Linked DNA regions of Homo sapiens: region 1 is linked to region 2. The links are contacts of gene promoters, found by promoter capture Hi-C in blood cells and fetal thymus (Javierre and others, 2016). All regions are on one chromosome and are shown on one strand. The core of a region is centred on a gene start or on the middle of the fragment in contact, and the rest is flanking DNA. Distances in the headings are between cores, read along the strand shown. Region 1 overlaps DPH6 (diphthamine biosynthesis 6). Region 2 holds the start of SPRED1 (sprouty related EVH1 domain containing 1).

The links. Contacts are between HindIII fragments. The CHiCAGO score rates a contact against its expected background, and 5 or more counts as called.
Region 1: a fragment that was not itself captured here is called in contact with the fragment with the promoter of SPRED1 in region 2 in 5 of 17 cell types (total CD4 T cells, naive CD4 T cells, naive CD8 T cells and 2 more); the score reaches 10.9 in total CD4 T cells.

Annotation. Positions count from the first base shown.
Region 1 is chr15:35,518,729-35,521,428 of GRCh38, reverse strand. The region is part of intron 3 of DPH6 (diphthamine biosynthesis 6); the gene reads left to right. Among named protein-coding and RNA genes, the nearest start is that of DPH6, 26 kb to the left of the region's middle. The HindIII fragment of the contact is 829 bases long and covers 852-1,680 here.
Region 2 is chr15:38,251,438-38,254,152 of GRCh38, reverse strand. It overlaps SPRED1 (sprouty related EVH1 domain containing 1), which reads right to left and starts at 1,317. Exons shown (of 7, transcript NM_152594.3): 1 at 936-1,317. The coding sequence starts at 967. RefSeq lists silencers at 1,108-1,157, 1,168-1,227, 1,408-1,507, 1,608-1,657, 1,668-1,967 and 1 more. The HindIII fragment of the contact is 4,356 bases long and covers 845-2,715 here.

The DNA of each region.
Region 1 (2,700 bases), core at 17-2,516, 2.7 Mb after region 2:
TTTGTTCATTTACTTCCTAGAGGATCTTACAGATTCTTTAGATGATATAGTCTATTTATATAAAGTTGGTTCATAGGATTGTACATTCAACATTCATTAAAAAAGGTTGTTTATTATGTTTAGTGAATTACAGGACCATTATAAAAGCTTTCTGTTTATTTACATGCATTCAATGTACCTGTGACTAGAACTGCCTTGCCTTAGGAGGAAACTAAGCAAAACCCATAAATTAATAATTTAAGGGAGCAATACTCAAGTAGCATTTCAGTTAAAAAGTAAAGCCTCAGAGTCAGTACTAGCCACTTTAGCATTGCTTTACTTTTTGACTTTTATTGGCTGAAAATAACTTGTTAAACTGGAGCTTTTGTAATAAAATGAAATCTACATACCATCTAAAGCCCCTTCCCCTCCTTTTGATTTATGAGTAGGTTGACATATTACTGGAGAATTTGTAACACTTTCACAGTTCTGCACTTTGATTTCAGAGAAGGTGCTAATCTCTCTGGAATTTTGAGAGTGACAAAATGAGTTGTATACTGTTTTTCCAGGGAATTTGGGTTCCTTTATTAGAGGCCTTAGTTTTATTATGGTACCTGTATTAATGTGGATTTATCCAATATGTGATATGGTGGTATGATTAGATATACATTAATGGAGGATTTTTTTTTCATTGTACATATTCTACTTGGTTTGATCATATTATAATTCTCACAGCTAATGTCCATGTTTCTACAGAGGTTCAGCAATTCAGGATATTATTTTCAAATTACCAAAATGAGATAATTTAACTCCCTTTTACTTTTGCATTATTTTTAGTGGAAAAAAATTAAATGGTAGTATTATAAGAAGCTTTATGCTGTGTATGCTAGTCTTATTGTATATATGTACTGAAAGTACCTTTGACACTGTACTTAATTGGATTTAATTTCAAAGAATTGTAACAGGAATTATGTGAGAGAATAGAAAATATATGGAACTTAATTAAGTGCTGTCCATATGTAAAGGTAAGATTCATGACTATTGTTTGATGTAACTTATTTATTTTACATCCTGATACTGTTGTATAATAGCACAAAATGCATGTCTATGAGGAAAAACTTGCTTTTTCTATTTTACTTTGAGTTTTTATGTGTAATAAAATTATGCTTAAAATAGGCGAGGATTTCAGTTTTGATTCTTCTTCTTTTGTTTTTTTTTTGTTTTTTTTTGTAGCATGTTTACTTTCACGTGAGAGTGATTGATCTGTAGCTGTCATTTTATCCAAGAAGGGACAAATGGAATTGGTCTTTTAGACAAAAGTATGCAAACAGACTGCATTCTTTCTGTTGATAGAATTATGGAAGAATTGCATGAGGTGCCACATTCAGTTGCCTATTGATTGTAAAGAGGATTCTGCAGTGGGGTGCTGTTTCCAATGGATAAGGAGGTGCTATGATTACTTACCTTTCTCATGAAAGCACTACAAAGGGAAATGCAAAATGTGTGCAGTGCAGTCTTCTCTATTTGACAGTTGTTTTTGTTAAGTTTTTTCCCCCATTGAAGTCCAGCCTGTTTTAGAAAAACATACATTTTAGTTCTTTCCCCTTTATATCAGGCTTAGTAGATTTCCATGCATTTGACCCTTTAGAGAAATTACATGTTATAGACAGTTTTCTTTTTCTCAGCCTCTATTGTAAAGCTTCAAAGCTGATGCAACAGTGCCCTCTATAGTCTTTTAGTGAACATTAGACAGATGTAGATGATTTCAAATGTTCAGGTAAGAAACAGGACATTTAAATTTAATTTTTGTTCAAACAAGAGACCCCTTTTTCCTAAGTAGACATTCTTGTTTTTCACTAGTGGCTTTACTTTAAACAAAGAGAACAAAAGACCATTCTGAGTTTTCATTTAGAATTATTGGCTGCTTCTTCTTTTTATCCCTTGGTAAATCTCAAGTTTTATCAGACGTTCATCAGAGTAATTTGAGAAAGATGGAATCTTACAGGCTGTACTGTCTGTTCATGAAATATCTTTTTGAAGTTGAACTCTGATAGGAGTATTTTTTAAAAATAATTTAGTTCCTTTGTACTTGTTTTTTCTATTTAATTAGAATCTGAGTGGGCTGCCTAAAATTTGACTTCTATTTATTCCTGAATTGTGAAACCCAGTCGTTATACATGACATTATTTAAATTCAAACCAAGGGAGTTACACAATGACTAAAGTGTTTGTCATTCATTAGCATTGATTTAAATTTTAGATTTCCTTTTTCTCTTTTTGGTTACCTTTTTGATTGTATATATTGATAGCTAAGTTTTTCATTGTAAAATGCAACTAGATGTGAAGTTATGGATAATAAAAGCAGGAATCATATTTAGATATGATTAGAAGAGAAAAATGTTATGGATTAAGTTTATTTTGCTTCTGAAAGTGTTTTAATAAAAAGATCACGGGCCCAAGTCCTGGTTTCTTCATGTATTCACTATGTAATATTGAACACGTCTTAACCCCTGCAGCTGCTTTCTCTTCTATAAAATGGGAGTAAAAACACCTTATCCTTTGATGTTTTTGTGAGGTATTAGAGATAATATATTTAAGTTGGCCAGGTCATTAGAGATGCTCAAATGGTAACTTTATTTCCAAAACCACAGTGGGAAAGTAAATGGCTTTTATCTGAGGAAGTTTTTAATATAGAATCTAGAACACATTTAATGCACTTTGG
Region 2 (2,715 bases), core at 68-2,567:
GAAAACGGATGCTAATATTCTGCTTGGAATTAAATCCCTTCTCAATAGAAAAGTGTTGCCAACCATTATTTCTCCACGCAGCTGTCACGTTAAAGCAAAACATTTAAAAGACGAAGTATTTCGTTTGGAAAGCAAGGAGAAAGCCCAAATAAGCTAAAACTTAAACCGGAATGCTCTAAAAGTTAATGAAATCACCAACATATTCAGCAATGTAAATTCGGTTACATCAACGTAAATCATGTGTTTTCACATAGCTGAAAGGTAAAAATTAGCATTCAAAATTCTTCTCCGTTCCTGAAGACACGTCCAATATTCACAAAGGTAAACTCTAGCTCAACATCGCCCACACTCCAGGTGTCCTTAATCCTATTAAATTCTAAAAATGTTTCCCTAACCCTATTTTTTACAAGAATCTTACAGGTCATAAGTTTAAAAGGGGGAGGGGGGAGAGGGTGAAGGCTTAATCGGTATTTAAGAGTCACTGACTCATCGAATTAAGATTCAAGAGCAGTTTGCTGCAGGAGGTGCTCCCACACATTAGTTTCCAAGTGAAACAGCTATAAAGGAAGTAGGATGGATACTGAAGGTATGGTGACTGGTATGTGAGTGAAAAAGGACGGGACAGGGGTCTCACAGGCAAAGGGGTAGTTTCTACTCCACTTCCATCCATCCACATTATTCCCTCTCATAGACGTACAATTGCCATCCTCTCCCAACACTTAATCCCCTACCCCAAAAGAAAGCAGCTAAATGTGGGAGGATGGGGAGGGGTGCTGCCACTAAAAATGGCTAAAGAAATCAGCTATCTCCAGAAGATGCACCGAACTCTCCAGGGTCGCAAGCTTTCCGGCACCCAAGTTTCGGATGGGTCTGGGGGAGAGCCGAGGGCGGATAGGGGGAGGGGGATTAGCAATCGAGATCAATGAGGCGCTTACTCGTTGTCAGAAGTCGCCGTCTCCTCGCTCATCTTTCCCTCACCGTGATCCGATCTGGAGATGGAGGAGCAACAGCAGGCGGGGGAGCAACAGCAGCACCGAGGGGCAGGAGGCAGCGGCGGCCGGGGGGGCGCGGGGGCAGCGGCACAGGGGCCTCACCATGGTGGATGCCTCACCCAGAACGGTACCCCCCCAGCCGGGAACCCCGGCCACCCCCGCAGGGGGGTGGCGGCAGCAACCTCCGCCGTGGCGACCCCAGCCTCTTCCCCCGCCTCAGTGCCCAGCCAAGGGATCCGAGGAGGCCCGGTGGAAAGGGAAAAAGAGAGGGGCTGCAAAGGCTGACTGGAGAGCTGCTCCTCCAGCCACTGGGGTGGAGCGCAGCGGGGTCCGGCCAGGAAGGAGTCGGCGGGCGGAGAACCCGGGAGCAGAGGCGGCGCTTCCCTCAGGGATGCGGCGAGGAGGAAGCAGAGCTCCGCTCGGTGGGGGCCGGCGGGGGGGTGCCGAGCCCAGGCTCCGGGCAGCGGCGGCGCGGTCCTGCCGGAGCCCACCCCACCATCTCCCGCCTCGCCGCCGGCTGCCCCTCAACCCCCGGCGGCGTCTGGGTCGGTCCTCAGGCGCCGGCAGAGCAGGGCTAGGGGCCCCGCGGCGGCGGATTCCTCCAGACACGCTCCAGCCGGGACTCCTCCTCAGGGGGGTGGAGGGGGCGGCGGGGAGCGTGTGAGGCGAGGGGCAGGCAAACCGATCGTTCCCACCCGGCCGGAGAAGAGCGGGCGGGCCCGGGTCCGGGGGGCAGGATCCCGAGAAGCGGCGGGAGAGGACAAGAGCGGCTGCAGGTTCCCCGCCAGCCAGTGCCCACCAGCAGCTCAGCGGGCCAGCTCCTCACGCCCGAGAGAGGGGAGCCGCGAGGGGGGCGGCGGAAGCGCTCACGCCGCCCGCTCCTTCCGCCGCCGCAGCCGCTGCCCGAACCGGGGGCGCCCGCGAGAGAAGGAGGCGAAGTAGTCCCTCGCGACTTCTCCCGGCCGCCCGCTTTCCCCGGAGGCCAGAGCGGGCGCGGGGTGGGGCTGCCGAGCGGGGTGCCCAGGCTGTGAGGGTGTGTGGGTAGGACTAAAAGCCGCGGCCTCCGGGCGAATCACTGCAACTCGAAGTCATGTGCAGCATAGCAAGTTTCAGGAAAGTAGTTCCCTCCTCCCTTCATTTCCCAAATCGTTGTCGAGCCACTTAGCGGAGAAAGGGGGAGGGAGGCGGAGGGATATCCTCCCTGCACCGTGCTCGGTGTGCGTGCGCGCGCTCCAAACTCTTGGCACGCCGCGAAAGGGGGCGGGGGTGGGAGCTGCGAGGGGAGCTGCTAGGGAGGTTGCATTGTTGTGGCGCGTTACTCCCCGTTACTCTGCTTGGAATATCCGGGTTGCTTGAACGAAGAGGCTAGAAAGACAGTGTGCTCAGAGGGGAAATCTGGAGGCTACTCTCTTCTGCCGTGTGTGTGTGTGTGTGTGTGTGTGTGTGTGTGTGTGTGTGTGTGTTTTCTTTGCAGAGCAAAGAATGGAACTGGCATGAGTTCATCTTTAGTTAGTGGGGGTTAGAAGCAGGGACTGCAAAGAGAGCTCCTCCTGCTGTCCCCCTGGTTGCACTGCTGCAGTCCCCTAGCTGCATGCACGAAGTGTATGTGTGTGTGTGTGTGTGTGTGTGTGTGTGTGAGAGAGAGAGAGAGAGAATATGAGAATGTATGTGTGTTTTAACACCTCGCCTCGCTGCCTGGATTCTTACTGCGCAAGGGGTATGC